Regions from separate parts of the Homo sapiens genome. Here region 1 is linked to region 2. The links are contacts of gene promoters, found by promoter capture Hi-C in blood cells and fetal thymus (Javierre and others, 2016). All regions are on one chromosome and are shown on one strand. Each heading gives the region's core, a stretch centred on a gene start or on the middle of the fragment in contact. The rest is flanking DNA. Distances are from core to core; before and after follow the strand shown.

Region 1 (2,700 bases), core at 1-2,500, 110 kb after region 2:
CTTTTTTTTTTTCTTTTTTTCTTTTTTGAGCAGGAATGAAAGTTTATTAAAAAGCTTTAGAGCAGGAATGAAAAGAAAGTAAAGTACACTTGGAAGAGGGCCAAGTGGACATCTTGGAGGTCAAGTGCAATCAGGTATCATCCAAACCTAGGCTAGAGGTTTTCTGGGCTACCTGAAAAATTTGAATGGCAGCTGGATAGCGGACCACAAGGGCCGGTTTACTTCCACTTCACCTCTAGTTCCTGGGTACAGTCAGTGCCGTGTCAAGCCACATTGGAACCTGAGGCAAAAGAAACATCAGTAATACTGATCTTGTCTTCATTTAACATTTTGATATTTTGTTCATCATGGATTTTTTCATTAATTTTGATGCTTAAAAAATACTGCATTATTATTATCTGGATTACCGAGGTTTTTTTGGTCCCCCTAAATTTTGTGGACATGGTGAGTACTTCACTGGCCTCACACTACTTCCAGCCTTGGTATCTGCCTTGGGATTTGTACACCCTGGGCAGTTTGAAGAGAGCAGTTGTGGGTCCCTCCAACTTCCTATAAAATCCCATGAAGGTCTCCTCCTTTATGATACCATTTATAATTAACTATAAGACTTCCACAGGATTAGGGGCCAAAACATCACATTTAGTAGGCTTATCAGATTACTTTTCATCCTCAAAGTAATGGGTTAATAGAAAATTGGAAGGAATAAAACCACGTGCTCATGCCTGTAAATCCCAGCACTTTGGGAGGCTGGGGCGGGTAGACCACATGAGGTAAAATTAATATTTTAGAAGCTAATAAAACTTATAATATTGATATTAACAATCAAATATATTGGGATATTGAACTAAATTCCCTTCAGCATATTATCCCTATGGAGCAGGATTGGCCTGAAGCATATTTTGACTTCAGCAACAATAATTATAGTTTGTAATCACTCAACAGATACATACTACACACTGCTACAGATCAGGTAGGCAAATGAATTGTTGTAAAGTTAGTTCAAATATATGAGAAAGCTTATGATAGAATTTTTGGTTGGTTGAGCTATCTGTATAAGTCCAAACCAACTGGTTATTAAAAATGTGTGGAATCTGTATGTACATTTTGATTATCTATTTGATTATATGATATTGCAAAGCAAGTGGTAGCTCTCAAACTAGGAGTGATCATTTTGTCATGATAAGGCCTTGATCACGGATCAGGGATGTAGACCGCACTGTGGATTGTTTTGAGCATGACTATTTTCTGAGGGGGAAAGCTCCCTCCCACACACACAGAGCGGTGGTGGTGCTGGAGTTACAAGAAAGATGATAATTGATGTAGCAAATTCTGAAAAAAGAGAAAGATTAGGATCAAAGGACGGTTGTGTGGATTAGAGTTGGTGAGAAGTTTCACCTCTTTTTCTGTAGCAGCGAGAGAAGACCCTTTATACATGGTTGAGAAGCAAATGCATGCAATGAGATGAAGGCCTGATTTTTTTCTCTGGAAGCTTAGGTAGCACAGTAGTCCCTTCATCCAAAGTTTCACTTTCAGCAGTTTCAGTTACCAGTGGTCAACCATGGTCCAAAAATATTAAATAGAAAAATGCAGAAATAAATAATTCGTAAGTTTTAAATTGCACGCTGTTCTGAGCTGCGTGATGAAATCTTGCACTGGCCCACTCCACTCCCTCCACCTGGGACATGAATCCTCCCGCTTCCAGCGTATCACACTGTATATACCACCCGCCCTTCAGTCATTTAGTAGCCACCTCGTTATCAGACCACAGTCCTTGTATTCAAGTAACCTTATTTTACTTAATAATGACTCAAGTGCAAGTCTTAATGCTGGCAATTCGGACATACCAAAGTAAAGCCTAAGTGGCTTTCTTTAAGGGAAAGGTGGAAGTTCTCAACAAGAAAAGAAAAAGTTGTATGTTGAGGTTGCTGAGATCCATGGTAAGAACGAATCTCCTATCTGTGAAGTTGTGATAAAGGAAAAAGAAATGCATGCTAGTTTTGCTGTCGCACTACACATGGCAAAAGTTATGGTCACAGAGCATTGATAAGTGCTTAGTTAAGGTGGAAAAGGCATTACATTTTTGTTTGCAAGACATGAAGAGAAAACATGTTCCCGACTGACAGCCATGTGTTGCACCAGATTAACTTCATTAAACTTTATCATAGGTCTGCATGTATAAGAAAAGGCATAGTATATATAGGGTTTGGTACTACCCATAGTTTCAGGCATTCACCGGGGGTCTTGGAACATATTCCCTGAGGATAAGGGAGAACTACTTACTGTAAAGGAAAGGAGAAAGAAACTTAACCAGAATATGCAAATGTGTATAAATCTATAGGGGATCGTAAACTGAAGGAACTAATGCCTGATGGTCTCTCTCTCCTTTGTGAAAAATGAAACAATATGATCAGCTAAGAAAATGTAGTGAAGGTTTGGAATAGCTACTGAGGAGGACGCAAAGAACTGTGCAGCAGAATTGTTGGGTAGTATTTAGGCCTGCAAATATATACCCTAATGTGCACCAATCCAAACAACTGGATAGATTTCTCAAGCAGAATTCAGTCCACGTGTAGGACTAACAGGTGTTTCTGTAATGGATGTAAAAGGAACACCAGGATGCAAAGGAGTTCAAGGCGTTAGTAAGGGTACAGTTGAAACCTGTGATTCATTTCAAAGTACACATTCTATGCAGATTTTTCA
Region 2 (2,700 bases), core at 1-2,500:
CAATCAGAGTGCAGGGAGGGGTCCTAAGTTTTATCCAGAGGGCGTCATAGGAAGCTTTCTTTCTTTCTTTCCAGGCCAGGATAAGTGTTACCAGCTCTGTAAAGTCTTTCTCTCCCTCTTTTTTTTTTTTTTTTTTTTTTTTGAGATGGAGTCTCGCTCACCCAGGCTGGAGTGCAGTGGCATGATCATGGCTCACTGCAACCTCTGCCTCCTGGGTTCAAATGATTCTCCTGCCTCAGCCTCCTGAGTAGCTGAGATTACAAGCCTGCACCACCATGCCCGGATAATTTTTGTATTTTTAGTAGAGATGGAGTTTCGCCATGTTGGCCAGGGTGGTCTCGAGCGCCTGACCTCAAATGATCCGCCTGCCTCTGCCTCCCAGTGTGCTGGGATTACAAGCGTGATTCACCGCGCTCGACCTGCAAAGCCTTTCTTGACACATCCGTCTTTCCTCACTGATCTGTTCGTTTTTTGATGGCAGAGACCTTGTCTCACTCATTTTTATGTCCTCACACGGAAAACGGTGGCTGGCTAATAGTGGTTACTCAATAAGTATTTGTTGAATGGATTAATAAAATAATTCCTAGCAGTCATTTGGCATGGAATCATGTACAGTCGTGCTGTTTATTGTTTTCTAGGGCATGTCTTTCCAGCACAAAATGATGGTAAATTTTCTGGGTGCAGAGACGGCTCTTACTGTATTTTACAGGCTACCCAGTGCCTAGTCCAGTGGTGGGTAATGCTTACAGGAATGTACCTGTTAGAAGTTCTTACAGAATTCTTTTGTTTTGTTTTGTTTTCTGACAGGGTCTCACTCTGTCGCCCAGGCTGGAGTGCAGTGGCGCAATCACAGCTCACTGCAACCTCCACCTCCAGAGGCTCAAGGGATCCTTCCACCTCCGCCTGCCGAGTAACTGGAACCACAGTCGTGTGCCACCGCGCCCAGCTAATTTTTGTATTTGTTGTAGAGATGTGGTTTCGCCATGTTATCCTGGCTGGTCTCAAGCGATCCGCCCGTCTCGGCCTCCCGAAGTGCTGGGATTACGGGCGGGCGCCACCTCTGCATAAGTCTTAGGCCTGCAAAACAGTCTTAAAAACATATAATATTTAACTTGAGAGGTGCAGTCCTCCTCTACATTGAGGGCAGGCTCAGCGAAGGAGGGCCCAAGACATAAAACTAACCAATGGCAGGAAAGCCCCCATGCCCCACCCAAGCTGCCCCTCCTCCCTCGCAGCTGAGCTTTTCTTTCAGTCCTTCACTGAGGAGCCAGAGGGAATCAATTCCACAAGCTGGGGTAAGTAAAGGTGTTTGGGGGAGGGCAGGTGCCTAATTTACAAATTTTTAAAGAGATCATATTTAAACTAAATGCAGGTAGTTTTGTGCCTAGTCAGGAAGGCCCTAATTTACACAATATAAGTTGGTTATGTGTGTTTAATGAAATTATACTTCAAATGCTTGAAGAGATCACATTTTCAAAAGCAATTCCATGGGGAAGGGAATTTTCTGCAAAGTAAATAAATATCTCAGAATGAACTTATATTCTAATTGTGAATGTCCATGTATTAAATTTGCTTATTCTGAGGCCCAAATGTTTGCTTATTTTGTTTAAAAACTTTACTTGGGATCATTAACATTCATACTAATTATTTTAAATGTAAGTTTTGTTAATTTCACTGATGAGTTCTCTCTGGGGCATAAAAAACCAATTCTTATGCTACATTATAGTCAGGAATTTGAAGGCCTGTAAATTGTTATCTGTTCAGCAATACTTTAGGGTCCGGGTCTTCCCAACTGCCTTCCTCCCTGTTTCCTTCTTACTCAGCAAGCTCAGTGGGGCCTCCCTGGGGCTAAAAGGAGTAGTTACCCTGTGACTCTTTCTTTGAGGGTCCAAGTAGGAACCTTTATAGCCCAGATCCTGGGGCCCTGGGCGGCCCACTGATTCATTTCAATTCCACTGCCTTTCATTTCTCTTCTCCTATCTTACTGCCTCTTCTTTAGCTATTCACAAGAGGAAATAGGATTTTATTTTTCATTATTTATTATATAAAAATTACACATCCAATCTTCTCAATTCTCAGTTCTTAAAGAAATCAACTAAGCCTTCAAAGACTTTTAGTTTTGCGTTTTCCATGGGTAACTGGTCCTAAAAATTCTCCCCATCCCCACAGAACAGAATGACCAATCTTTCAGGCTTGGCCCTGAATTTGTTTTTCAGTTGAGGAGAACAGGAGATGGAGAAAGCAAGTGGAAGACAGTCCATTGCTCTGTCCACAGTGGAGACTGGCACAGTGAACCCGGGGCTGGAGCTCATGGTAATCACCAGTTTAGTTTCTCTCTGCAGAGCTGTGGGCTGCTGCATGGGCTCCTGTAGGGTATTTGGCTGCTCTCAATCCCCATCATCCCTGGCAGGGCTCCATGACTGATCCCAATGCTCTCTGTGCTTGTAGGAAAAAGAAGTAGAGCCTGAGGGAAGCAAGAGGACTGACGCACAAGGACACAGCCTGGGGGATGGACTGGGCCCTTCCACTTACCAGAGGTACTGGTGTTTTGGAATCTTGTTCAGTTAGGAAAGGATCTAGGGTGGGCTGCCCCTTCAGGCAGCTTGTGGTATTATCACAACCGCTCCACCTTACCATGTGTACATATATATATGTATCTTACATAATTAATTAACTTAAACATGTGCCATAAACTCCATA

The links. Contacts are between HindIII fragments. The CHiCAGO score rates a contact against its expected background, and 5 or more counts as called.
Region 1: a fragment that was not itself captured here is called in contact with the fragment with the promoter of SLC28A2 in region 2 in 1 of 17 cell types (fetal thymus); the score reaches 5.3 in fetal thymus.

Annotation. Positions count from the first base shown.
Region 1 is chr15:45,358,162-45,360,861 of GRCh38, forward strand. No RefSeq gene overlaps it. Among named protein-coding and RNA genes, the nearest start is that of GATM, 19 kb to the right of the region's middle. The HindIII fragment of the contact is 473 bases long and covers 1,015-1,487 here.
Region 2 is chr15:45,250,984-45,253,683 of GRCh38, forward strand. SLC28A2 (solute carrier family 28 member 2) reads left to right here and starts at 1,251. Exons shown (of 18, transcript NM_004212.4): 1 at 1,251-1,295; 2 at 2,217-2,313; 3 at 2,449-2,537. The coding sequence starts at 2,233. It overlaps SLC28A2-AS1 (SLC28A2 antisense RNA 1), which reads right to left. Exons shown (of 5, transcript NR_120335.1): 5 at 598-1,089. The HindIII fragment of the contact is 6,298 bases long and covers 53-2,700 here.